Regions from separate parts of the Homo sapiens genome. Here regions 2 and 3 are each linked to region 1. Evidence: promoter capture Hi-C in 16 types of primary human blood cells and fetal thymus (Javierre and others, 2016). All regions are on one chromosome and are shown on one strand. The core of a region is centred on a gene start or on the middle of the fragment in contact, and the rest is flanking DNA. Distances in the headings are between cores, read along the strand shown. Region 1 holds the start of ATF4 (activating transcription factor 4). Region 2 holds the start of TNRC6B (trinucleotide repeat containing adaptor 6B). Region 3 overlaps ADSL (adenylosuccinate lyase).

Region 1 (3,807 bases), core at 622-3,121:
GGTACCTAGTGGCTGCTGTCTTGTTTTGCTCCATTTTTTTCAGCTTCTTATCCAGTTTCTCACCCTTTACTTTTGCTGCTACCATCTTCTCTCCAGGAGGATCGTAAGGTTTGGGACGGGCAGACCCACAGAGAACACCTGGAGATGGGAGGCTCCTATTTGGAGAGCCCCTGGTAGAGGGGCTGTGCTGAGGAGACCCCAGATAGGACTCTGGGCTCATACAGATGCCACTATCATTATCTGAAGGGGTGTCTTCCTCCTTTATGCACTGAGGGATCATGGCAACGTAAGCAGTGTAGTCTGGCTTCCTATCTCCTTCAGTGATATCCACTTCACTGCCCAGCTCTAAACTAAAGGAATGATCTGGAGTGGAGGACAGGACCCCTGGGGAAAGGGGAAGAGGTTGTAAGAAGGTGAAGGGGGCAACCTGGTCGGGTTTTGTTAAACTTTCTGGGAGATGGCCAATTGGGTTCACCGTCTGGGGGGGCTGCTTATTAGTCTCCTGGACTAGGGGGGCAAAGAGATCACAAGTGTCATCCAACGTGGTCAGAAGGTCATCTGGCATGGTTTCCAGGTCATCTATACCCAACAGGGCATCCAAGTCGAACTCCTTCAAATCCATTTTCTCCAACATCCAATCTGTCCCGGAGAAGGCATCCTCTGCAAAACATTTGAGTGATGGGGCCAAGTGAGTCAGATACAAAGGTAGGAGGCCCCTAACCCTAGATCCCACCAGGACGATGTGGTGGTGGCCCACTCACCCTTGCTGTTGTTGGAGGGACTGACCAACCCATCCACAGCCAGCCATTCGGAGGAGCCCGCCTTAGCCTTGTCGCTGGAGAACCCATGAGGTTTGAAGTGCTTGGCCACCTCCAGGTAATCATCTAAGAGACCTAGGCTTTCTTCAGCCCCCAAACCCGACTGGTCGAAGGGGGACATCAAGTCCCCCACCAACACCTCGCTGCTCAGGAAGCTCATTTCGGTCATGTTGCGGTGCTTTGCTGGAATCGAGGAATGTGCTTAATTCGAAGGTGTCTTTGTCGGTTACAGCAACGCTGCTGCTGAATGCCGTGAGAAGCCTGAATGAGAATCAGAAGCCAACTCCCATTAGAGGTTAGCTGTTCTGAGAATTTCATCCTTCCACTTATGAGGCGGGACTTCTCTAGATCGGCCATCTAGAGAATCGGGAACAGGGCAGTTGTATTTGCCCCTCCCTGCTTGCAACTCAGGTTCCACAAAATGGACGCTCACGGAGACCAGGGGATTCTTCCACCGGCCGCCAAGAGGAAAGCGCTCCGTCCCCACGTCCAAATACGGCCAGGGCGGCCGCGCCCCGCCCACCGCCCGCCCTTGACTCACGCCCGCGCCGCCGCCCTGCCGCCGCCATCTTGGTTCCTGCCACGTTTCGTGGGGCAACAGCCAAGACCCCTGGGACCCTTGCGGGGCTCGGGGTCCGAGGGCTGTAGGGCTCCTGGGGAAGCAGTCCGGGCACCCGACTACGCTTTCCCGATCCCAGGCACGCGAGCGTCTCGGGGACACCCAAGCAAAGACCACGCGTCCCGGGCGCTCGTTAAATCGCTTCCCCCTTGGCGGCACCGCCCTGGCCCCAGGCCGCACCCCACCAATCCAAAACCCGCGCCGGCCCCAGGAGCACAGCTGGACGACCCGCCCCGGTACTCACGCCATGGCTTAAGCCGCTGGGGGTTGCCGCTGCAGAGCCTGGTGCTGCTGCCGCCGCTGCAAAGGCCAATGCTGCCGCAGGCACTGCTGCCCCTAATACGCCATGGTGGCCGTGGACCCTGAGGGCGGGGAGGAGGGAAAACGCACACGCGCAGAGAAAACTACATCTGTGGGCGGGCAAAGTAGAAATGGCTGCCGTGGCCGCCCGCCGGCCCTTTATAGACTTCGTCTCTATGGGGACGCAGCACAGACGCATCCTTCCGCCGCGACCACGTGACCGTCTCCTCCCGCCCGCTCCCTTCCCTCCCTCCCTTTGACGCCCCAACCGTTTATGCCCAGGGCGTAGCTGTGACGAGAAAAGGAGTTTGTTCTTATGGCCTCACGAAAGGAGAGAGGTGTACTACTTTACTAGGCTTCTATGATCAGAGTCCGTTCTTTCCTTCGCCGCCGGAGCGCGGAGTGATCTCCCAGACACGCCTCGCTTCCGGTGTCAGCGCAGTGGGCGGGGAAAGGTCGTTTTCCGGCGAAGAGTTTTTATTGTGAAGGCCGAGGACGCCAGGTTATCGCGCGAGGTGCTGGCGAAGAGCGCGCGTCAAGGTGATTGGCCCAGGCCCGGTGAATCATATATATCTCGAGCTCTTATTGGCTCAGGGCCCTAGATGGGCGGCTGCTGGGAGAGGGATCCCGGGGTCCGCGTGGGAAGGGTTGGGGTCTCGGGTCGCTGCTAGTCCTCAGCCAGCCCCGCCTGCTGGCCCGCCACGATCGCGCTGGCTCCTGCCCCCAGGCGGCCTTAGCCCAGCGCACCCCTTAGTGGCCTCAGGGACCAGCCCTTGCGGTCGGATCCCGCCGCCCTCAGTGGAGGTCCGCACTGGTGGCCCCGCCGCCGCTCCCAGCCTGCGCGTCCTTCGGTTGCGGGTGGTGATTTGTGGCCTGCGGAAACCGGGGGGTTACCTGTTCCAAGCCTGAGTTTTCCAGAGGCCCCATTCATAGCCGACACGGCGCTGCTGCCCCCGGGAGGTTGAAGGGGCCTCGAGAGGGCGCGCCGGGCCTGTCCACCTACCCCCAAAGGCCGGCTGAGTCTGCATGGCTCCTCCTAAACTCTGGAAAGGAGCCGGGAAGACGCGCCGTCCTGTCGCCCAACCTGGGTTTTTACAATTTTCATCCGGCTCAAGTGCAAGGCTGCCACAGAATAGCATCATAGAGGAACTTCTGGTGTCCGAAGATTGCGTTCTCCTAAGAACAAGATTTTCTTCGCTGCCGTCTCCCTGGGGTAGTTCGGATTCACTCCGGATTCTGAACTCCCCGGCCTAACCCGCTTTTCAGCAGTCACGCCCATGGCCCAGGGAGGAGAGGCGCTTGGGAACCCACGGCCACTTACTGGGGGTTGTGCGTTGGGAAGGGGTAGTCTGTTTTAAGAATACAAGAAACCTCCCCATCATCCTTCAGCCCCTTCCAGTCAGGCCCTGTGAAGGTGGAAACTTTGAGTTTCCGCCTCCATTTCACTGGGCCACACAAGTATGAGCGCTGTGATATCAAACAACCAGGGAAGCACTGCTCTAAATAACCACAGGCCATCTGCTGCGCTCATTCAACCTCGCCCACAAATCCTTTCCAATGGTAAACCGAGGCCCAATGGGATGAAGCTTCTTGCTCAAAGTCACAAGGCTCCCAGTGGAGGGAGTATGGGGTAGGAGTTAGAAGACAGATTTTGGGGAGCGCATCCAAAAGAATCCTGGCTGGGACATTTTGGCTAAATGACTTATACTCTCTGAGCCTCAGTTTCCTCATTTGTAAAATGAGACTACTGATGAGTATCCTTGCCTCATGAAGTGAGATCATACATGTAAAGCACTTAGCACAGTGCCTGCCTGGTACATGTAAGCGCCCAATAATGGTTGCTGTTGCTGCCACTGTTCATAGAACTCAGGTCTCCTGACCCTGACTTCTGCCACTCTCCATCACATCCTCCTGCTGCCTCAGAGGACTCTTCATTATTATTTAATGAGATGAAACCAACAACTTTAAAACTGGTATACACAAGGCATACTGGATGCTGGAATAAAAGTATGTTTTTTCTTTCTCCTTGGGGAATCGTGAGTGTTGAGATATACAGAAGTTGGCGCCAGG
Region 2 (4,033 bases), core at 9-2,508, 660 kb before region 1:
GGGACAAAGTACATTCATCTATCTGCATTGCCTCAGGGCTGTGTCCAGCTTAAACTGCAGATGATCAATGATTATATGATCTGAGTTATAAAAATTAAAATCTTTCCAAACTTTTCAGTCATGGAGCAGCTGGGTAGGGTGAGGAGCAGCTGGGTAGGGTGAGGACCACCCTTATTCCTCAGGGTGGTCCTCAATAGCCAGAGCTGCTCAGCCTGCTCTGCAGAACCTGAAGGTCTCATCATCGCATAACACTCTTCTAGTGTCTCTTGTAGAGCTGAAGAGCTGGAGAAGCCTTAGAAGTCTCTGCTTCAATGTTCGGAAGTTTATTTTTAAAGGACCATCCGAGTGGCCACACAGAATAACAAATGGCCATTCACAGCTGAAGAACAGAGCTGAGTTTGCACCATATATCAAAGATGCCAAAGCTTCCTTTCTGGGAACCAGATGGAATGACTGAAAAGCACTTTAAAATTGAGATACCACTTCTGATGAACGCTACCAATTTTTGTGATCTTTCAGTCATGAACCTGTGACATTTTTTTCTGAGACAGAGTAATGTTGTGATATTATCACTAGTTGATCCAGCATTAGGAAATATAGATTGGTGGGGGGGGTGGCAGTTAATAGGGATTATATTCACTTTCTCCAATAAGAAACTTCCTCTGCATATGCCATCTCATTTTTAAAAAGTAAAACTACAACGTGCAAGTTCCAGCACCCCTGGATATTGCTCTTCATAACATCGGCCACATCTTTAAAGTTTTTAAAGCTTCAATTCACAGTACTCACAGAAAGAAAACTTCAACAGAAGGCACAAATTAAATACTATCCATCTGCACACTTAATTGATTACTCATTTTCATTTCCTTCTGGATGACCATCGTGTTGGTGAGCCAGAAGGATTGGCTCTGCAGGATCTGAGATCCAAAATGGCAGTCGAGCTATCAACTCACCAGAGCCATAATGCTTCCCATACGTGAAGCCAGGTCTTATTTATCTCACCTTTTAATTATCCAGGGGAAAAGAATATTTATAAAAAACATTTCAAAGAATCAAATGGCATTCATTGTATCATTCTCTGTTCTGCCTAAGACAGCAGGTACCCTGCTCTGGTTCCTCCTCTCTGCAAACTGAATTAACCTGCCATTCATATGTTTACACAGCCACAAAAACAAGATAATGGCAAAACATGGAAAGCCTAGGTTTTATCTCCTCTTCAGTAAGACCAACTTTAGGAAATAGGTGTAAAATGAATCATATAACAAGCAAAGCCCCAAAAAAGTGCTTTCATTTTCAGAAAAACAGCAACAAAAATCAGAGCTGATTTTCCTTTAGGTCTACCACAATGCAACATTCTCTATCACTAAGGTAATTTCTCTATCTTTTCCCTTTAAATTCAAGCCGTAAAAAAATTTAGAGACAACTTTGTTCCAGACTACCTCTTTAATGTAATGTTTCCAATCCTTCTTACACAAAAGCTGAATTTATATCATCAAAAAATTTACAGTGAATCTAAACAGTCACTTCTGTATTTATTACCATTACTAACATAACAACATTAATTTTTTAAAATAATAAAATCCTTGCTTGTTAGAGACAGAGGGCTTTAATTATCTTATGTATTCAAATGGAAAGTCTTTTTGTTAAATTAGCGTGAAAGTCCCTTCATCTACACACAATTGGCCCAAAGAAACAGGCCATTTTCAGCACAAGAGGCCAATCCATTTTAAGAGTGAATAAAGCTTTTGAAAGCACCACACACCCTCTTCCAGACTGTCAAATTTTCAAAATGGTCCAGCATTTTTTCCACTTTATCTTTTTTAACACTTTCAGGCCCAGTAAGCATCTCATAATTAGATTAATTAAAAAGGAAACAACAAAAAACACTGCTCCCTTCTGATCAAAATTATTCCATTTATGCTTAATTAGCTTTAATCCACGTCTACATATTTAATGATGGGGATATGACAATTCAACCCATTTGCATATTTTAAATGCCTTTTCTAAACTATACTTTGTAACAGATTTAGAAGAACAGTCTCTTTCTCATGCCAATATGCCACAGCATAAATCAGGAGGATACAAATTAGGAAAAAAAGAGAAAAGAAAACAAGGCCTCTCAGAGCCAGGGATGTGCTCAGGGGGGTGGAGTAATTTACCCAGGGGTGGGGGCAATTTACCCGCCACATCACAAACTACAATCCTTTCAGCCCACCAGACCGAGAAGCATTACATCACACTCTCACAATGATAGGGGGAGGAGGCTCTGAGAAAGCAAGTTTTCAGCTTTCTTTCCTCCCTGCTCTCAGGCTTCCAGAATCCTGCATTAGGAGTAATGGAATTTAACTTCAGGCACTGCACAGCTTCAGGGGTTACTAACAATCACATAGACTGCTACTTATACATGTGACCCTAAATGACCACTTCGCAGTGGATACATGGCCGAAACAGGCAACCACACACTCACACGATGAATTTATGCTGAAAAACTCAGTTTTGCATCTGTGTAAAATTAAACAAAAATTTTATTTCGTGAGGAATGAAGAAGGCTAATACACAGGGAGAACTGATAAAGAAATAATTTCTAATCGCGGTGAATAGCTGTTCATATCTTTAAAACACCATGTTTACAACATAGTCCTACCCTTTGGTTGAATCCAGGATCAAAATAAAAGCGCATCTGGCTGCACATTTGAGAACACACACAGAGACCCAGTGCAAATGAGCGCGCGCAGAAAGGAGAGGGGTGAGCCACATATTGCTTGGGAGGTTTTCAAGCAGGGGAATCTACAAACCCCAAACCTCCTGGTGTTCACCCGCCCCCAACCTGATGTTTAAAATGTATTAGGTCTTACTTTAGGTTTTACATCTCTCTAGGAAGGAGGGCCCAGTTTAAAAAATAAAAAGATAGAAAAAGGCTTTCCCGTTCTAGGGCTTGCCCTCCCAGATCCTTTGTCGGCCTTAGCAGCCGAAAGAATGCAAACCCATTTATATTTATGCAAATTTTTGCAGCAGATTTAAGGGGGGAGGGGGAGGTCTGTGTTTTTTAAAAACCTCTTTCTAAATAGCAAATTTCCAATTACTCGCAGCTTCATTTATTGCAAGATAGAAACGATGATGAAAATCTGCATATACATTAAAAGTGCAATTAAATCACTTCAAAATCTAAATATTTTACCACGTCTTTTCCATTTCTAAAATGCCGAACCAAAGTACATCACGGGTCTGATTTACACAGATCCACGAAATGTCTGAAGCCAGTCTCCATGCTAGACAAATGTCGATTTGCAACACCACCAGTGAAAACGGTTAGACAAGATCCATATAAATCAATTGGTTAAAAAAAATTGAAAATATTTACCAACCTCATAAAGTGCAGCAGTGCTTAAATCCAGCAAATTGAGGCATACAAGGTAGAAATGGAAATGAAAAAAGGTCCAAAAAATGAATTCTTTTTGTCTATCTGTTTTTTTGTATTTTAAATATTCAGAAACCAGCAGAGACTCTGTCGGCCATTTTGGCTTGAACTAACTCTCTCTCACACACTCTCCCTCTTGCTCTCTCTCTCCCTCTCTGTCTCTAAAGGAAGCAGCTTTTTGTGACCTTCAAATAGAGGCAGATCATGTGACTTCGGGTAGGTTTGTCAATCAGGAAAGGGGAGGGAGCTGGAGCTGAGACTGCCTTAAAGGGGAAGCAGCCCTTTTCCACTCACTTTCATTTGTGAAATGCTGTTATCTCATACTCTCCGCCTACAGACACTGCATGTGAAAGTGGCAACAGCATAAGGGTAACAGATGAACAAAACAGAAAAACCTTTATTGGTTTATAGAAATATGCTCAGTTGCTAACGATTCTTACAGCTCCTGGATCTTCTCCTGGCTCGCTTGCTAGTTATTCTCTAGATGTTTGGGCAAGCACAGGCTGGCAAACTGCTCTGTAAAAGGGGCTGAAACACAGCTCTACCAAACAAGAGGCTTTAGCTTTGAAAGAATGAGGTGAAATACAGGGCACGACTGATCTCTAAGAAACTCCT
Region 3 (3,591 bases), core at 559-3,058, 840 kb before region 1:
TCTGTCACCTCTAGGCCAGACCACTTGCTCAAGTGCCAGACCTCATACCTACTGAGTGAGACGTCCACCTGGTTGATCTATGGGTACCTCAATCCCCAAACTGAACTCAGCCACTTTCTCATTCCTCCTACTCACCATTACATACCTGCCATTCCTCCCTTGTAGCTCCTGCCTCAGTAAATGGCAGTAGCGCCCCACTCACCAAGCTCTTTATACTCACTCCGGTCAACCACCAGGGCTGGGCTGGCCAGTCTGCCTTCGACTCTGGATCTATATCCTTCCTCTCCATTTACATGGCCACTGCACCAATGTGGCCTCAGACTTTTAAAGTAGCCCCTAACTTGTTCTGACATGATCCCTGTCTCCTTACAGCCAACTCTCCAAACTGTTGCTAGGGTCTTTTAGCAGGCAAATCAGCAGACCTACAGGGTCACACCTTGCTAAAAAGTATTCAATGGCTGACTTCTGAATGAGTTCACATGACTTATTTCCAGAGATAAATCGTGGATTATGCACAGATCCCAGAAAGCTAGGTTTAACTATACATCCGTATCCACTCAAGAAATTCCAGCAAAATGCGAGCAGGCGAGAGTAATGCCAATCTGCTTTAAGTGAGTATATACATAAAACAGAAAATGATGCGCATGTTGGCACCTCAACAGTAGTTACAAATTATTTCTGACTCATCTCATAACTAATCAAGATGTCATTGTGCCTAGACACCACAACTGACATCTATCTGCCTTCAGAAAAGACCCAGAAGACCTTTCATAAACTGGCTATCTGTGACCATGTCCTGCCCCACCTCCTGGCACATGTTGACTTCATTCCCCAGGGCTACTCAAGTAGTAGTAACTCCCTCAAGTGTGTTTTCTCCTGCTTTGTGCCTTTATAATGCTCCCGATCTTGTCTTTAAAAGATGCATGTATTTCTTAAGTCTTAAGGCATCACCTCTACTGTGAAGCTTTCTGACTCCTCAAACACTATTCCTTCCTCTTTGCTCCACAGTACCCAGTACACACTCCAATTGTAACACTTATCACACTGTCCTTTTTATGTTTTTGCCTCCCTGCTAGACTCTGGGATCCTTGGGGATAAGGAGACTGTAGAGATGCTCAAATATGTCCTTTTACTTCTAGGTCCCTCCTTCAGACCTCCACTCAACTTGGTGTATGTGATGTCCCTGTGCCACTGACCGGTTGGCACTATCATCCAGTGTGCGTTCAAACCACTGGACAGATGCTGTCTGTAGCGGGTCCATGACAAGGGTCATCAGGTGGCGGGCAAGACTGCAGCAACGTTCTGAACGCATGGGATTCCGCTTATATGGCATCGCACTTGAGCCTGCCCATGTAAAAAAAGGACAAGATGCAAAGGCAGAGAGACTTCAGAGGATAGTGAGTAGGCAAGCATGCTGAATGAGCTCTCAGCCCCCATCCACAGCCTTCCAGCAGCAATGTGTGCTCACAGGTCTCTACACAGCACTCACCAATCTGCTGTTTTTCAAAGGGTTCCTCCATCTCCTTGAGGTTTGCCAGGAGGCGTATGTCGGTGCAAATCTGGGGGAGGTAGGGGAATAAGCATCACCCCACACTGTCAGTGTGCAGTAGAGTCTGGGAGCTGTGACTAGGCTGATGAAGGAGATGAGCTCTTAGGTGTGCTGTGGCTGAGCTGAAGACCAGCGCATCCTCCCAAAGAGCTCCTGCAGAGTATCTTACTCCGACTCCTCTCTGTTCCCGAAGGACTGGGATGACAAATTCAAGGAGCATGAAAACGCTTTTGTGAAACACTGCTTAAGGCATCATGGAAAGAAAATCACAAGATTAATTCAGGATGGGCGCGGTGGCTCACACCTGTAATCCCAGCATTTTGGGAGGCTGAGGTGGGTGGATCACCTGAGGTCAGGAGTTCGAGACCAGCCTGGCCAACATGGTGAAACCCTGCCTCTACTAAAATTAGCCAGACATTGTGGTGCATGCCTGTAATCCCAGCTACTTGGGAGGCTCGCTCGAACCCAGGAGGTGGAGGTTGCAGTGAGCCGAGATCATACCATTGCACTCCAGCCTGGGCAACAAGAGCGAAACTCCATCTCGAAAAAAAAAAAAGATTAATTTAATATACCACTGAACAAGATGGATGTTTTGCAGTGCTTGAGATAACTTTAAAGAAAATGCCAAAACGAGTCTTCCCCTTAAGGGTTTCATTTACAGACCACAAATTATTAAAACTAATGTAAAATATTGCTTGAGAGAGATGGTTAAGTAAAAGTCTGAGGTTAATTCAGTCTGTCTGTGGTGCCCAAAGCTCCTGTCCCCACCCCACATGCTGCCACCACTCACCTTGTGCACTGATGCCCCCAAGCTAGCCAGCACAGACAGTACTTCAATATCCACTTTTCGTGTATATGTCTGCCCTGTGATGATGAAAGCTCTAGGAATAAGTACAAGAGAGACTTAGGTTAAAATATTTTAAAGCCATTGCAGTGGTGCATGACTGTAGTCCCAGCTACTTAGGAGGCTAACGGAGGAGGACTGCTTTAACTCAGGAGGTTAAGGCCAGCCTAAGCATCACTGGGAGACTCTTATAAAATAATAATAATTCAAAACATGACTCTGTCAAACAAGGAAAAACACATCCTAAAGAAAAGCTTGGTCTTATTGGTATGCTAAGTTATACTCAACCAGTGGACCTGAGTGGTAACTTGCTCCTGGAATAAACTATTCTTCCACCCTTTTCACTAATACTCAGGACAATGGCCTGACTCAAGAAGGATACATGGTGCAACGTGCCCATGTCTGGCCACAGCCCAATAGAAATGCCTGGGAGAAGGAGCCATGGTGGAACCTGGTGGACCTCAATGGAAATGGTCAGATTTAGCCTAACCTGTTGGGGGCCCTAAGTAAAGAAACAAAAATGGTAACAACATGGATAAAGGTATTCTAAAGAAACCAGAAGTAAATCATTTTCTTTTTTCCTATAGATTATACAAAAAGAGAATGCAGGTCAGGCATGGTGGCTCATGCCTATAATCCTAGCACTTTGAGGCTGAGGCAGGTGGATCGCTTGATCTCAGGAGTTGGAGACCAGCCTGGGCAACATGGTCTCTACAAAACAATACAAAAATTATACAAAAACAATACAAAAATTAGCCAGGCATGCCTGTAGTCACAGGGGGCTTAGGTGGAAGGACTGCTTGAAACTGGGAGGCGGAGGCTGCCGTGAGCCGAGATCACACCGCTGCACTCCAGCCTGGGTGACAGAGTAAGACCCTGTCTCAAAAACAATAATAAAATAAAATGAAATCCAGAAAATATGTCAGCAAGACGATTAGGCGAAAAAAAAAAAAAAAAAAAAAGAATCCAGATAGTAAGAAAGTAAAACCCAGGATAGAGACAGGAAAAAAAAAAATGGGTAGAAGAACAAAGGAAGAAAAAGGCAAAAATTGTAAGGTCAAATCTGCAGGTATACTGAATATAGGACTTCCATCAACTTAACAGGGAGGCCAACACATTCCCATTTACCTACCTCTTAAATCCTGCCTTTTCTGTCACCATCTTGTCAAGCTGCTCTACCTTGGAAAGAAAAGACACA

Evidence for each region. Contacts are between HindIII fragments. The CHiCAGO score rates a contact against its expected background, and 5 or more counts as called.
Region 2: a fragment that was not itself captured here is called in contact with the fragment with the promoter of ATF4 in region 1 in 1 of 17 cell types (fetal thymus); the score reaches 5.9 in fetal thymus.
Region 3: a fragment that was not itself captured here is called in contact with the fragment with the promoter of ATF4 in region 1 in 1 of 17 cell types (naive CD4 T cells); the score reaches 5.8 in naive CD4 T cells.

What each region holds. Positions count from the first base shown.
Region 1 is chr22:39,518,626-39,522,432 of GRCh38, reverse strand. It overlaps ATF4 (activating transcription factor 4), which reads right to left and starts at 1,871. Exons shown (of 3, transcript NM_182810.3): 1 at 1,682-1,871; 2 at 762-1,079; 3 at 1-660. The coding sequence starts at 987. RefSeq lists enhancers at 1,394-1,443, 1,804-1,953 and a silencer at 2,334-2,533. The HindIII fragment of the contact is 5,669 bases long and covers 1-3,325 here.
Region 2 is chr22:40,177,473-40,181,505 of GRCh38, reverse strand. It overlaps TNRC6B (trinucleotide repeat containing adaptor 6B), which reads right to left and starts at 3,581. Exons shown (of 23, transcript NM_001162501.2): 1 at 3,366-3,581. The coding sequence starts at 3,370. RefSeq lists an enhancer at 3,693-3,742. The HindIII fragment of the contact is 973 bases long and covers 772-1,744 here.
Region 3 is chr22:40,359,241-40,362,831 of GRCh38, reverse strand. ADSL (adenylosuccinate lyase) reads right to left here. Exons shown (of 13, transcript NM_000026.4): 6 at 3,526-3,572; 7 at 2,340-2,430; 8 at 1,490-1,559; 9 at 1,197-1,344. Among named protein-coding and RNA genes, the nearest start is that of SGSM3, 9.6 kb to the left of the region's middle. The HindIII fragment of the contact is 1,683 bases long and covers 967-2,649 here.